2 separate regions of the Homo sapiens genome follow, and region 2 is linked to region 1. The links are contacts of gene promoters, found by promoter capture Hi-C in blood cells and fetal thymus (Javierre and others, 2016). All regions are on one chromosome and are shown on one strand. Each heading gives the region's core, a stretch centred on a gene start or on the middle of the fragment in contact. The rest is flanking DNA. Distances are from core to core; before and after follow the strand shown.

Region 1 (2,700 bases), core at 89-2,588:
TAGAGAACCCTAATACAGTGACCGTATTTGGAATCGGTCCTTCTGTTAATTTCACTTGGCAAGTACTAAAAGATGATGATCTCAGATATACCTATGGCTGCAAAAACATGACATGGCTAAATCCCTTGGTTGCAGTATCTCTTTTCTTTTTTAAGGGGGGTGGGGGGGCGGGTCTCACTGTTGCCCAGGCTGGAGTGCAATGGCGTTATCATAGCTCACTGCAGCCTCAAACTCCTGCGCTCAAGTGACCCTCCTGCCTCAGCTCCCAAAGTGCTGAGATTTTGCAATATTTATGGTCACAAGATTATGTTATTCCATAAAAGTATCTTTCTGAGGCTAGGCATGTTGGTTCACACTTGTAATCCCAGCACTCTGAGAGGCTGAGATGGAAGGATTCATTGAGGCAAGGAGTTCAAGACCAGCCTGGTCAACATAGTGAGACCTCATCTCGGAAGGAAGGAAGGAAGGAGGGAGGGAGGGAGGGAGGGAGTGAAGGAAGGAAGGAAGGAAGGAAGGAAGGAAGGAAGGAAGGAAGGAAAAGTATATTTTTGAATCTTTTTCTATTTCTCCAACTCTTTCTTTAGAAGAATTCTATTTCCATTCTTTCTTCACCTCTTTGCCTTTGTTAGCCTTCTCTCCAAGCAAATCGGGAGCCTTTATTTTTTGTGTATTCATGAGGGAGAGGAAGATGAATTGCTGTACAAACTAAAGTAATGAAAATGGAGTAGGTAGGAGGATAGACAGCTGCAAGGATCTGAGCTGGATAGACTGAACAAACCCTCATCCTAAGCAACTCACAGCTCAGATTTCTTCTCTGGACAGCTGGCTTTTTTCGTCCTTCTGAAATACTCTGCAAAGATAGGAGAGGGGCTATGAACTACCTCTGCTATGGATCTTATTCAAAGTCAGCTACCTCCTAGATACTATCTGTAGAACCTAAATGTAATATTCAGCATAGCAGGGATGAACATGGTAAATGAAAGGTATCCAATTGCCCACTGTAATTTTTAAAGGCCAGGAGCTCAACATTATTGAAAATGCTGGAGGGCTGCCTGGAGTAGGCAGTGACCACAGAGTCACACAAGCTGGAATTGGATATCCAACTTGTCTGTCATATTTCTCTCCTCCCTCCCTGACTTGGCACTCAATACTCCATATTCTTTCTAATCCTCTAACCCTCCCCACTCCCCCAACTCCCACACCCTACCCCCACCAACGTTCCTGGAATTTTGGACTTAGCTATTTTTAAAACCGTCAACTCAGTAGCCACCTCCCTCCCTGCTCAGCTGTCCAGTACTCTGGCCAGCCATATACTCCCCCTTCCCCCCATACCAAACCTTCTCTGGTTCCCTGACCTCAGTGAGACAGCAGCCGGCCTGGGGACCTGGGGGAGACACGGAGGACCCCCTGGCTGGAGCTGACCCACAGAGTAGGGAATCATGGCTGGAGAATTGGATAGCAGAGTAATGTTTGACCTCTGGAAACAGTAAGTCAAAATGAAATTGCAATTCCTTTAATAAGCTTTTATATTGAAGTTAGACTTTTATAAAATTACAAACACCTACTTGGATGTCTCTCGTCCAAATGCTGGGATCTCTCCCTACCAAGGTGCCCCAATCTCCATTTCTCTTTCTGTCTTATTTCTTTCTGGCCTCTGGCCTCTAGCTTTTTGAAGTTTAATTCTCTGTCTCTCCTCTGGCAGTCTTAGCCCTCTCTTTACCTTATTACCTCAAGACTCCTGATGAAGTTTTAGAAGGAGTTCCCTACGTCCTCTATTCTGTAGTTTTCTTACCAAGGCCAAATATGACCTCAGATGATGAGTCACTGATACCCTTCTATCCTGCCCCCACTTAGCAATGCCCTTCACATTGAGATTCCAAGCATGGGGGCTGCTCCCTGTAAATGATTTCTCCCCACAACTCTAGTCCCTCCATTCTATTCTCCCTCTTGCAGGACTCTTCCCCCAATCATATCCTTACCCATAAGATAGGGGAGTTAGGCAGGAGGGATTTAGCCCCTCTCCAACTCCTGTCATCATAAAAGACTGAGAACTTCAGAATTTGAAAAGAAGAGATTAATGGAAGGAGTGATATTTGGGAAAATACAAGAACTGTTGACTTAGAAAAAACAAATATTGATTTGCATGTTTGGTTTGCATCCCATTATTCCATGAGAGAGGGAGATTAAAATTGCAGCTCTCTAGAGCTGATGAAAAGAGATTGGTTTCCTTTTCATTTGAATACTGATATTCTAGACGGGATGGGTATGCCACCCTTAATCCTTCTTGTGTTCTGACACAAAGGAGGAAAAGAAATGTATGACTCCTAGAGGGCATCTCCTCCTAATGGAGAGGGACAAATAAGAAGTATGTTTCTGAAATATTTTCAGGTCCTAATTTTACTAGGGTACCCACTAGGATTACTGGTATCTGATCTAGCCCCATGATTCCTCCATCTTTGACATACCTGCTGTTTGGTAGCTCAGAATGGAGCAATACAGTGGACTCTGCCCCCTTGAGTTCACTCAACCTTCCCTCCACCCCCACCTAGGGGTATTGCACAAGGGCCCTAAAAGTGGCCACAGGAACAGGGCAAAGAGGCTTAACTGCCACACTTATAGTTTGAGGAACTCCAATCTCCCCAAATTCCAGTCTGTTCATCCTTTTCTTGATCTCCCCAGATTCACTCCACATTATCCTTA
Region 2 (2,700 bases), core at 52-2,551, 210 kb after region 1:
TCTGTTAAGACAGATTAATCTCTCTCCTTGATAATTTGAACAAGTGTCACAGGAAACTTCTTAGTAGACAAGGTAATGTTTACCTCCTTGCCACTCACTTTGATGTTGTACAGATTTGAATAGACTTTTAACCCATAGTACCATCTTCCAGAAGTTTCATTTTGCTTACCTTTCACCATGCTTAGAATTTACATTCTCAAAAGAAAAAACAATTATAGTTACATGCTCTTTCTTACCTTTTGCTGGATTAACTGAGACCTGCAGGTATCCTACAGTGATGCTGATCTTCTAGCCCGTTAATTCTCAGACCTCTCAGATTCAGTGCCCTCTTCTTATAAGTATTTTGAAATACTCTCTTTAGTGAAATGAAATCCACAGGTAATACAGCTTTTCTACATATATGTGTGTGTGTGTATATATATATATATATATATATATTTTTTTTTTTTTTTTTTTTTTTTTTGTGAGACAGAATCTCTGTCAACCAGGCTGCAGTGCAGTGGCGTGATCTTGGCTCACTGTATCCTCTGCCTCCTGGGTGCTTCAAGCGATGCTCGTGCCTCAGCCTTCCAAGTAGCTGAGATTACAAGCGTGCATCACCACACCTGGCTAATTTTTTTGTATTATTATTTATTCTTTGTAGAGACAGGGTTTCACCATGTTGGCCAGGCTGGTCTCGAACTCCTGGCCTCAAGTGCGCCCACCTCGGCCTCCCAAAGTGCTGGGGTTATAGGCGTGAGCCACCACACCCGGCCCTACATATATAATTAAAAAAATTATCTTGCAGTAAGATAAAGGATAAATAGAAAATATTTCTGACAGATTAGCTTGACATGACAGCTACCTGAGTAGACTGCTATAAGGGTATTTGCAACTTAAATACCAGGAGAAGCAAACCAGTACAGTGAACAATTCTTTGCAAATGTACAAATAAAACTCAAGTACAACTTCTTTCTTCTTCTTCTTTTTTCTTTTTTTTTTTTTTTTTTTTGGTAGTGATGGGGTCTCACTTAGTTGCCCAGGCTGGTTTTGAGTTAGGCTCAAGCTGTCCTCCTCCTTGGCCTCCCAAAGTGCTGAGATTACAAACGTGAGCCACTGCATCTGCCCCAAAGTACAGTTTTCTCTTACTTTATTCAGCAGTTGCTTTTCTGGACATTTAGTGCATATTAAAATTATGGACTGGGCACGGTGGCTTACGCCTGTAATCCCAGCACTTTGGGATACCAAGGCGGTTGGATCACTTGAGCCCAGGAGTTGGAGACCAGCCTGGGCAACATGGTAAAACCCTGTCTCTACAAAAAATTTTTTTAAAAATTAGCCGGGCTTGGTGGCACGTGCCTGAAGTCCCAGCTACCTGGGAGGCTGAGGTGGGAGGATTACCTGAGCCCAAGAGGTCAAGGCTGTAGTGAACCGTGATCACACCGCTGCACTCCAGCCTGGGTGACAGAGTGAGACCCTGTCTCAAAAAAAAAATAAATAAATAAATAAAATTATGCAGAAGGACTTGGTGCTTATACGTAGAATGTAATTAGGTTCTAGGCTTTGGTAATTATACAGATTTTAAAAATCCAGTTAACTATTCATAAGGAAGTTTGAGAATAAAGACATTTTTTCTTTGTGCTGGACTTGCCTATGCTTTCCTGGCCTCTGCCAATTGAATGTCAGTAACACTTTTTTTTTTTTCTGCAACTTTTATTTTAAGTCCCGGGGCACATGTGCAGGATGTGCAGGTTTTGTTATGTAGGCAAACCTGTGCCATGGTGGTTGGCTGCACAGATCAACTCATCACGTAGCTATTAAGCCCAGCATCCATTAGATATTCTTCCTGAGGCTCCCTCAACAGGCCCCAGTGTGTGTTGTTCCCCACCATGTGTCCTCCTCATTTAGCCCCTACTTACAAATGAGAACGTGTGATGTGTGGTTTTCTGTTCCTATGTTAGTTTGCTGAGGATAACGGCTTCCAGCTCCATCCACATCCCTGCAAAGTAATCACTCGTCCTTTTTATGGCTGAATGGTATTCCATGGTGTATATGTACCACATTTTCTTTATCTAGTCTCTCACTGATGGGCATTTGGGTTTATTCCATGTCTTTGCTATTGTGAATAGTGAGAAGCACTTCTTAACTGCTGTGACAACCAAAGCACTTCCATAGATGTCCCAACTATCCCCTAGATGATTGTGTTGTCCTCATTAAGAATGACCTCTAGTCATACAGGAAAACATTTTTCTGTTTTATCATTCACTCTTCTTTTTTTTTTCTTGCTTATTATTCACTACTTTAGCACAGCCTTTTAGTCTAAAAGACAAAGATTTACTTGGCCTTTAGACAATTCCTATATGTCTTTAAATTTCTTATTTCCTCACCACTCTTATTATTGATGTTTTCTTTTCCATAAGTGTTAGGACAGTGCCTTGGTACATAGTAGATACTCAATTAGTATTTGTTGAATGAAGGAAACTTAACTGTAGGCTTTTTCTTCTTGCCACTTTCTGCTTTTTGTACCTGTTGAAAATGATGGAGGTACCAGTGTTCATAAAAACCTTGAAAACAGGCTGGGTGCAGTGGCTCATGCCTGTAATCCCAGCACTTTGGGAGGCCGAGGCAGGCAGATCACTCGAGGTCAGGAGTTCAAGACCAACCTGATCAACATGGTGAAACCCCGTCTGTACTAAAAATACAAAATTAGCCAGGTATGGT

Evidence for each region. The method cuts DNA at HindIII sites, captures the fragments that hold promoters and counts their contacts. A CHiCAGO score of 5 or more calls a contact.
Region 2: a fragment that was not itself captured here is called in contact with the fragment with the promoter of HJV in region 1 in 1 of 17 cell types (activated CD4 T cells); the score reaches 5.2 in activated CD4 T cells.

Annotation. Positions count from the first base shown.
Region 1 is chr1:146,020,373-146,023,072 of GRCh38, reverse strand. HJV (hemojuvelin BMP co-receptor) reads left to right here and starts at 1,338. Exons shown (of 4, transcript NM_213653.4): 1 at 1,338-1,486. The HindIII fragment of the contact is 1,771 bases long and covers 1-1,519 here.
Region 2 is chr1:145,809,647-145,812,346 of GRCh38, reverse strand. The region is part of intron 1 of RNF115 (ring finger protein 115); the gene reads left to right. Among named protein-coding and RNA genes, the nearest start is that of RNF115, 13 kb to the left of the region's middle. The HindIII fragment of the contact is 4,239 bases long and covers 1-2,700 here.